2 separate regions of the Homo sapiens genome follow, and region 2 is linked to region 1. Evidence: promoter capture Hi-C in human tissues and cell types (Jung and others, 2019). All regions are on one chromosome and are shown on one strand. The core of a region is centred on a gene start or on the middle of the fragment in contact, and the rest is flanking DNA. Distances in the headings are between cores, read along the strand shown. Region 1 holds the start of BIVM (basic, immunoglobulin-like variable motif containing). Region 2 has its middle 12 kb from the start of NALCN.

Region 1 (3,588 bases), core at 964-3,463:
CCAGAGGTGGAGGTTACAGTTGCACCATTGCACTCCAGCCTGGGCGATCAGAGCAAAACTCCGTCTCAAAAAAAAAAAAAAAAAAATTTACTACTAAGAATGACTGCAGGACCTCAGGCTCAACTAATAGCTTACTCATAAAATCATGTCATAAGCAATAGAAATATGGTTTGCTCGTATGCAAAGCAAAAATTTATAAAATGGCAAGTTTAAAAAGCACCGCCAGAGTCATGATTGTTCAAAGTCACTGAACGAAGTGTTCTGTAAAATAAACGTCCATTTGTAAAGCCAATCTTCATCGCCTAGGTTGTAGTCTTTTCAGGTTATATTTTGTCTGTATTCTCAAGTATCAAGTTTATGAGAGAACCAAACATCTCTAAAAACCTCTTCAGTAAAGCCTTTTCGTATAACAAAATACCCTGATCGATATCCTGTATAGAAGGCAACTGAGGAGCAGGGGCATTCCGGTGACCTCGTAAGGGTCGAATATGCGCGGGAGGGCGAAACCAGAGGCGCATAGCCCCCGGCCGAGCTAATGCCACCCTTCCCACCCGGTGTCCTCCCGCGCCCTCCAGGCCCCTTCCTCCCCTTCAGACCTGCGGGTCCCCAGAGCCGAGGCGCCAGCCTGTCAAAAGATACCGGGAGTCCTCCGCGCCTGGCGCCAGCCTCCAGCCCGCGCCCCTGGGGAGGCCGGGAGCGTTTCCACCACCGTCCTCTGACAAGCTCGCCGCTCGGCCGGGCTCCGAGGCCGCCGGGACGGAGTAGACAGTCGCGCAGGCCAAGCCCCGCCGCGCAGAACCAGTGCGCGCGGAGGCGACGCGGGCAGAGAGGAAGGAGCGCGGCTGCGCTCCCTGCCCGTGGCCAACCCAGCCCGCGCCTCCGCGCGTGTCGCGGGCACCCCGAGTCCCCAGCCCGCAGAGCCCAAGGGCCGCCGAGGCCTCCTCGCCCCTACTCCCTCCTCTACCTTCCCTCACCGGCCGGAAGACGAGGCTCTCCGCCAGGGGGAGCGCGCCGAGGCCCGGGGGTGACCGCCTCGAACATGCTTGCCCCGGGCCCCGGGGACGCTGTTGGTGTTAAAGGGGGCCCACGGGCAATTGCTGCATCCGGGCTAAGAGCTGGGGCTCCGATTCGACTGTTTGAGTAAACGAGTCGGTATCATTAATAATGACAATTGCACAAAAGAAAATAGGAAAGAAACCCCCTTTCCTGGCGCCGAACCAGGCCCGCCTTGGCTCGGAGCCACCGGCTCTTCTGGGTTTTCGGGGCAGCTGGCAAGAGGGAGGCAGGCAGAGGAGGCGGCTCCGGGTCCGACTGCCAAGCTGACCAGGGCGGTGAGCCCGTGACTCCTGGCGGCGGCCCAGACCCGGGTGCTGGCGTGCAGGGGAAGGCGACGGCCGCTGCGCGCTGGTTCCCGGACCCTGCCCAGCGTGGCGTGGAGACCGACGGCCGCACAGGGGTCACCGGTATCCACATGGACACCTCCTAATCGAGCTTTGTTCACCAGAGGGCTAGGCCCTTCTTTCCCTGGCGCTTCTCTTCCCCCCGCGACACAGCTCTTCCCCCTACTCCTTCCCGGGAGAGCGCGCACCCATGCAGTGGCCTCCATCTGGACGCCACGGGGCTCGGAGAGGCGATGACCCCTGGCAGCCCAGGCCGGTATCGAATTAAGTAAAAATTTTGAATGCCCAGGTGGCTGCGCGTAGAGCGGCAGCAGGCCGGGCTGGCGGCGCCCAGGTGCCCAGCGGAGGGCCAGGCGCTCAGAGCGCACAGCCGGCCGCCACCTCGGCCCCTGCCCCCCGCCCCGGGGTACCTCTGGCCTGTCGGGTGGGGTCGGGTCGCTGCGGCCGCGGCGGAACCCGGCTCCGGACCTGGATCACAGCATCCAGCGCGCGGCCGGCGAGGCGCCTCCTGTTACCCTGGGGCCGGCGTCCCTCGTCCCATCGGAGCGAGCGAGGATGCTGCGGTGCCCGGCGACAGGTCGTCGGATAGCATTGACAGCACCTTCCTTTCAAGGTGCTTTATGCCTGCCCTCTCCACGTGCGGAGGGCAGGGTGACCAACGCAAAAACCTGAGCTGCGCCTCCAGACCCGTGCGCCCCTTTGATGGGCATCTGTGGTGTTTATCTGTCCCCCGAAAGCGGTGACCGAGAAGTAAATAAATGGGCGAGAGGTGGTAAAATCCTGGCAGTATTTCCGCTCGTCCTGTCGCGAACTACATATCCCAGGGAGCCCGGGGCGCCGGGACGCGTGTCCACCCCGCCATCCACTTGGAGAAGGCGTTACTGAGCCTGGCCCGACGCACGGGCCAATCCCCTCGCCCTACACCTTGGCTGGAACCTGAGACGGATTCGCTCCCAAATGATGCTCCAGTGGCAGGAGCAACTCAAGTTCATCATTGTCCTGAGAGAGAGGAGCAGCGCGGTTCTCGGCCGGGACAGCAGAACGCCAGGGGACCCTCACCTGGGCGCGCCGGGGCACGGGCTTTGATTGTCCTGGGGTCGCGGAGACCCGCGCGCCTGCCCTGCACGCCGGGCGGCAACCTTTGCAGTCGCGTTGGCTGCTGCGATCGGCCGGCGGGTCCCTGCCGAAGGCTCGGCTGCTTCTGTCCACCTCTTACACTTCTTCATTTATCGGTGGATCATTTCGAGAGTCCGTCTTGTAAATGTTTGGCACTTTGCTACTTTATTGCTTCTTTCTGGCGACAGTTCCAGCACTCGCCGAGACCGGCGGAGAAAGGCAGCTGAGCCCGGAGAAGAGCGAAATATGGGGACCCGGGCTAAAAGCAGACGTCGTCCTTCCCGCCCGCTATTTCTATATTCAGGCAGTGGATACATCAGGGAATAAGTAAGTCGAGAAACGGCTCCTTACCTATTTTGGATGGCGGTTAAATCTGTTTCTCCCTTTAAGATTTTTCTTTCCAAGAACTCGTTTCTCCACAGCAGTTTATATTCCAGGATATTTGGTTACCCATTTTTCTCTGTAGCTGTAGAAATTGTTCCGAATTATAATATATGCAATATAATGTATTGTATATAACATATAAAATAATCTCCTAGCAATTTTGATTCAGATTCCCACATTATCAGGGCAAGACAAAGTCCCTCCACTTTGCTGGAAATACTGTTTCTAACTACTTTTCGCATAAGCTATTATAAGGGATTTAAACCTAGTTGTTAGAGACTTGATGGGCTTCATCTTTCTCTGGTGCGGCCCTCAATTTTCAAGGAGACATCTGCAGGTAAGCATGTTTTGAAACTGAAAAAGAAAAATGAAGTACTATTTGAAACTTCAGAGTTCGGAAGGAAAGTATCGAAGTATTAATCTCCTATATGATTGTAACAAATATTTTGTTCCAATGAATTTAATACTTTAACATCATACTTAAAACTTATTTTTATAATTCCTATACTTCTGAAATGATTGTCTCTATTATTGGTGGATGCTGACTGTGTGTATTTCATACAGAAAAAAATACTGGAATAAAAGGTTGTCAAGTAAAAGGCAGGTTGTAAATTTTGTTATTTGGCAAAAGATGATACACTACCTACTACTTTGCTTTTGCCCATGGCTGAGCGTGAGTTTTTTTTTT
Region 2 (3,694 bases), core at 719-3,218, 1.4 Mb after region 1:
CTTTTGATACATCACAAAAAAAGTAAAACCTATACTAAATGGGAGAAATATTTATAAAATTTATGAAAAAAATTATTAACAATTCCTAATTTAAGACTTTGAACACAGTTTTTCACTAAAAGTCTACAACTGTTAGAACCACTGAAGAGAAAAAGTATATTCTTCTATGTATTATAATAAGCTTGGCAAAATAATAGCAACATATATGTCTTCATATACATAATTTGTGTATATGTATAAATGCGTACACATTCACACATATATATAGCAACATATATCTTATCAAATTTTATAAATTGATAATAAAATGTTAGTTTTCCAACAAAATAAGCAAATTGTAGAAAAAGGTCATAAAAACAAGAAATACATAAAAACGTAGTTCAAAAGTCAAACTCACCAGGTAAGCAAGAAAAGGTAAAATAACAAAACAATGAGATATGATTTTTCATCATTTCAACTGGAAAGACTATAGACTATAACACTGAAGAGGATGGGTGAGGCAGGCTCACGGTGCACCGCTAGTAGACATGCAAACTAACATTCTGGAAAGCCATCCACACATGAGCTCACTATATCGGATTGTGCAAGTCATGCTTTGCACAGACACCTGGCTGAGGGAATGCATGGGGCTGAAATCCAGGCCTTGCTATATTTTCTCCAAGCCATAATCCCTGATATGTGTTGAGTCACCCCATAATAGAGGGTGCTGTTTTCTTCACAGAAAGGCTGGACTACTAGTGGCTCCATCTATATATGCACAGAGCATACCTTTTGCTACAAGTGACTTATAGGCAATACCTCTAAACTACCCTGGTAGATAGGCAGAGACTTATGTACAAAAGAGATGCTTATTTCTGCAGTAGCTTTTGCTTTGACACCAAAATCCGCTTTTCTATAAACATTGTTCATTGAAGACTTAATTCCAGGTGGCCTATCAAGATATCCAGTTGAATCATGGGTTTCTATTGACCATCTCACTAAAAGACTTGCTGAGTAAGCTATGGCTATATTCATGTCATAATCATATGTATAATTTAATTTACTCAACAATAATGTCAATGTCAATATTCATAATATCACATATTCAAAAAGTAACTATTGCACACAGCATATACAAGATCTCTTTTGAGGGAGAGAATATAGCAGTGAACTAAACTGACAGAAATCCCTACTCTCAAAGAGCATATATTTTAAATTTTAAAAAGTAAAACTATGGGAGTAGAGAACAAATCCTCTGAAATAATATGCTTTGTACTGTTTATGCTTTCTTCTTCCAGTGCAAGGTACACTCTCTTCTACAACTGACTTGCATGATTGGTTGCTCTCCTGTTTAAACTATTGACAGATGCCCTTATTTGCCAGACCCAAAGTTTAGCAATTTATTTATTTTTAGCTGTAATTCTAATTTGCTATTCCAACATTTCCATAATAATTCAATTGTGCTACATCAGTCCTGCATTTCTAAAACACTAGTCTATGTCCTTAAAAGACAGGATCCAAGACTGCAGTTGTTCCATTATTCATTCAATACATATTTTTAAATGCCTAGTATGTGCTAAGCACTGTTCTAGGTGTTAAGGATAGAGCAAATGGGTGAAACAAACAAAACCCCTGCCCTGATGAACCTTCTATTTCAGTGGTGTGGACAATGGGCAAGATAAGTAAAATATAGAGAATGTTGGGTATCTAAAAGAACTAAGGAGTAAAGATTGTTTTAAATGAAAAAATAAGAAATATGGATTGGGGTGATGGCATTTTAGATGGGGTAGACAGTGAAGGTTTGACTGGGAAGTTAATATACAGGAAGCGAAGGACTTAAGTGAACTAATGCAGAAACAAGAAACCAAAACAGAAAACTGCATGTTCACACTTACAAGTGGGAGCTAAACATTGGGTACACACGGACATAAAGATGGGAACAATAGACACTGGGGAATACAAGAGGGAGGAGGGAGGGAGGGAGGGGGATAAGGGTTGGAAAAAACTACTTGTAGAGGCTGAGCACAGTGGCTCACATCTGTAATCCCTGTACTTTGGGAGGCTGAGGTGGGTGGAACACCTGAGATCAGGAGTTCAAGACCAGCCTGGCCAACATAGTGAAATCCCATCTCTACTAAAGATACAAAAATTAGCCAGGCATGGTGGCCCACGCCTGTGTTCCAGCTACTTGGGAGCCTGAGGCACGAGAATTGCTTGAATCCGGGAGGTGGAGGATGCAGTGAGCTGAGATCGCGCCACTGCACTCCAGCCTGGGTAACAGAGTGAGGCTCAGTCTCAAAACAAAACAAAACAAAACTACCTATAGAGTGCTATACTCACTACCTTGGTGGCAGATACATTTGTACTCCAAACCTCAGCATCATGCAATATACCTTTGTAACAAACCCTCACATGTTCCCCAATTCTGAAATAAAAATTGAAAAACAGCCCAAACAAGTGAAGGATCAAGTGAGCTCAAAAGATTTCTGAGGGAAGAGTACTTTATAGGAAAGGCTAGGTGCAAAGGCCCTAAGGTAGAAGCATGCCCCATAGTTCATGTGGCAGCAAGGAGGTGAAAACATCTACTCAAGTATTTTGTGAAAGATTCAAAGAAGTGTCCAGTGACTTCTGTTTCTGGAGAAAAAGTGGTCTAGATTTTCTAGCTAAGCTTCCTGGTAAATATAATTATAAAAGCTAGACTAAATATTAAAAATTTTAATTCTTCCTAAAAGCATCCAAGAGCTGATAAGACAGTCAGCAATCATCAGGCGAAATGCAGGCAACAAGAATGAATACTGGAATATAAGCAGAGGTTGAAGGCATTTCTACCATAAGGGAATTTGCCTATCCAGTTTAAATAAAACTTTTGTTTATAGCAAAAGAAAAAGCTATAAATCTTCCATTGGATTCCATAGACTTGAGAAGACAGAGGACAAGATTTGCCTTGAAGCTGAGCATAAGGAAGCATTGTCCCCAAGGATTTATAACTAAGAGCAAGCACTAGCACAGATTTTTAGACAAAATGCCTTCCCACAGGTGATAAAAAAAATCACATGCCATGAATTTTGGTCATCCTTGTACTATGGACTGTTGGTGTCTTTAGGTGTCTGACAAAAGCTAAAACAAATCCTCCCTAGTGAAACCATTTTCATCTTAAGTCTCAAAAAATTTTGTAAAAGATTTTTCGAGACCACTTGTTGAAAAAATAAGCAACAGAGAGAGAAAATTAGACACCATGATGAAGAATCTTCAGAAAAAATTAGACTGCAAAAACAGATCCAGAAAATATTTAGACTTTGAAATTGCCAGACATATAATATAAAATAACTGTATTATGTTTAGAGCATAAGTCAATAAAGAGCAACCTAAAAATATCTGTAGGAAATAAAAAAACAGCTAGCCACATAAAAAATCAAATAGCATTTCAAAAACTAAATAAATATTTGAAATTAATAACTGAAAAGACTGGTTTAATAGCTTTTTAGATGCAGCAAGGTGTATAAGTGAACTGAAAAACAGGTCAGATGAACTATTCAGAATACATAATAAAGGAACAAAGGAAATACAGATCCATAGACATGAAGGATAAAGCGTGATGGGCTAATGTACATAAACTGGAGCCCCAGAAGGAGAGAACAAGCAGAAGAAATAATTAATACCAATCCATAAGTTCCGAGTCTAATAAATCTCAACTAGAATAGATAAAAAGACATCC

What was found. The method cuts DNA at HindIII sites, captures the fragments that hold promoters and counts their contacts. A contact is called where the count stands out against the background at its distance.
Region 2: a fragment that was not itself captured here is called in contact with the fragment with the promoter of BIVM in region 1 in 1 of the 25 tissues and cell types used here (dorsolateral prefrontal cortex).

The regions. Positions count from the first base shown.
Region 1 is chr13:102,797,744-102,801,331 of GRCh38, reverse strand. BIVM (basic, immunoglobulin-like variable motif containing) reads right to left here and starts at 2,213. Exons shown (of 11, transcript NM_017693.4): 1 at 1,811-2,213. It overlaps POGLUT2 (protein O-glucosyltransferase 2), which reads left to right and starts at 2,356. Exons shown (of 10, transcript NM_024089.3): 1 at 2,356-2,843. The coding sequence starts at 2,662. RefSeq lists silencers at 587-1,016, 1,047-1,096, 1,657-1,926 and an enhancer at 1,987-2,206. The HindIII fragment of the contact is 13,413 bases long and covers 1-3,588 here.
Region 2 is chr13:101,426,899-101,430,592 of GRCh38, reverse strand. No RefSeq gene overlaps it. Among named protein-coding and RNA genes, the nearest start is that of NALCN, 12 kb to the right of the region's middle. The HindIII fragment of the contact is 4,586 bases long and covers 1-3,694 here.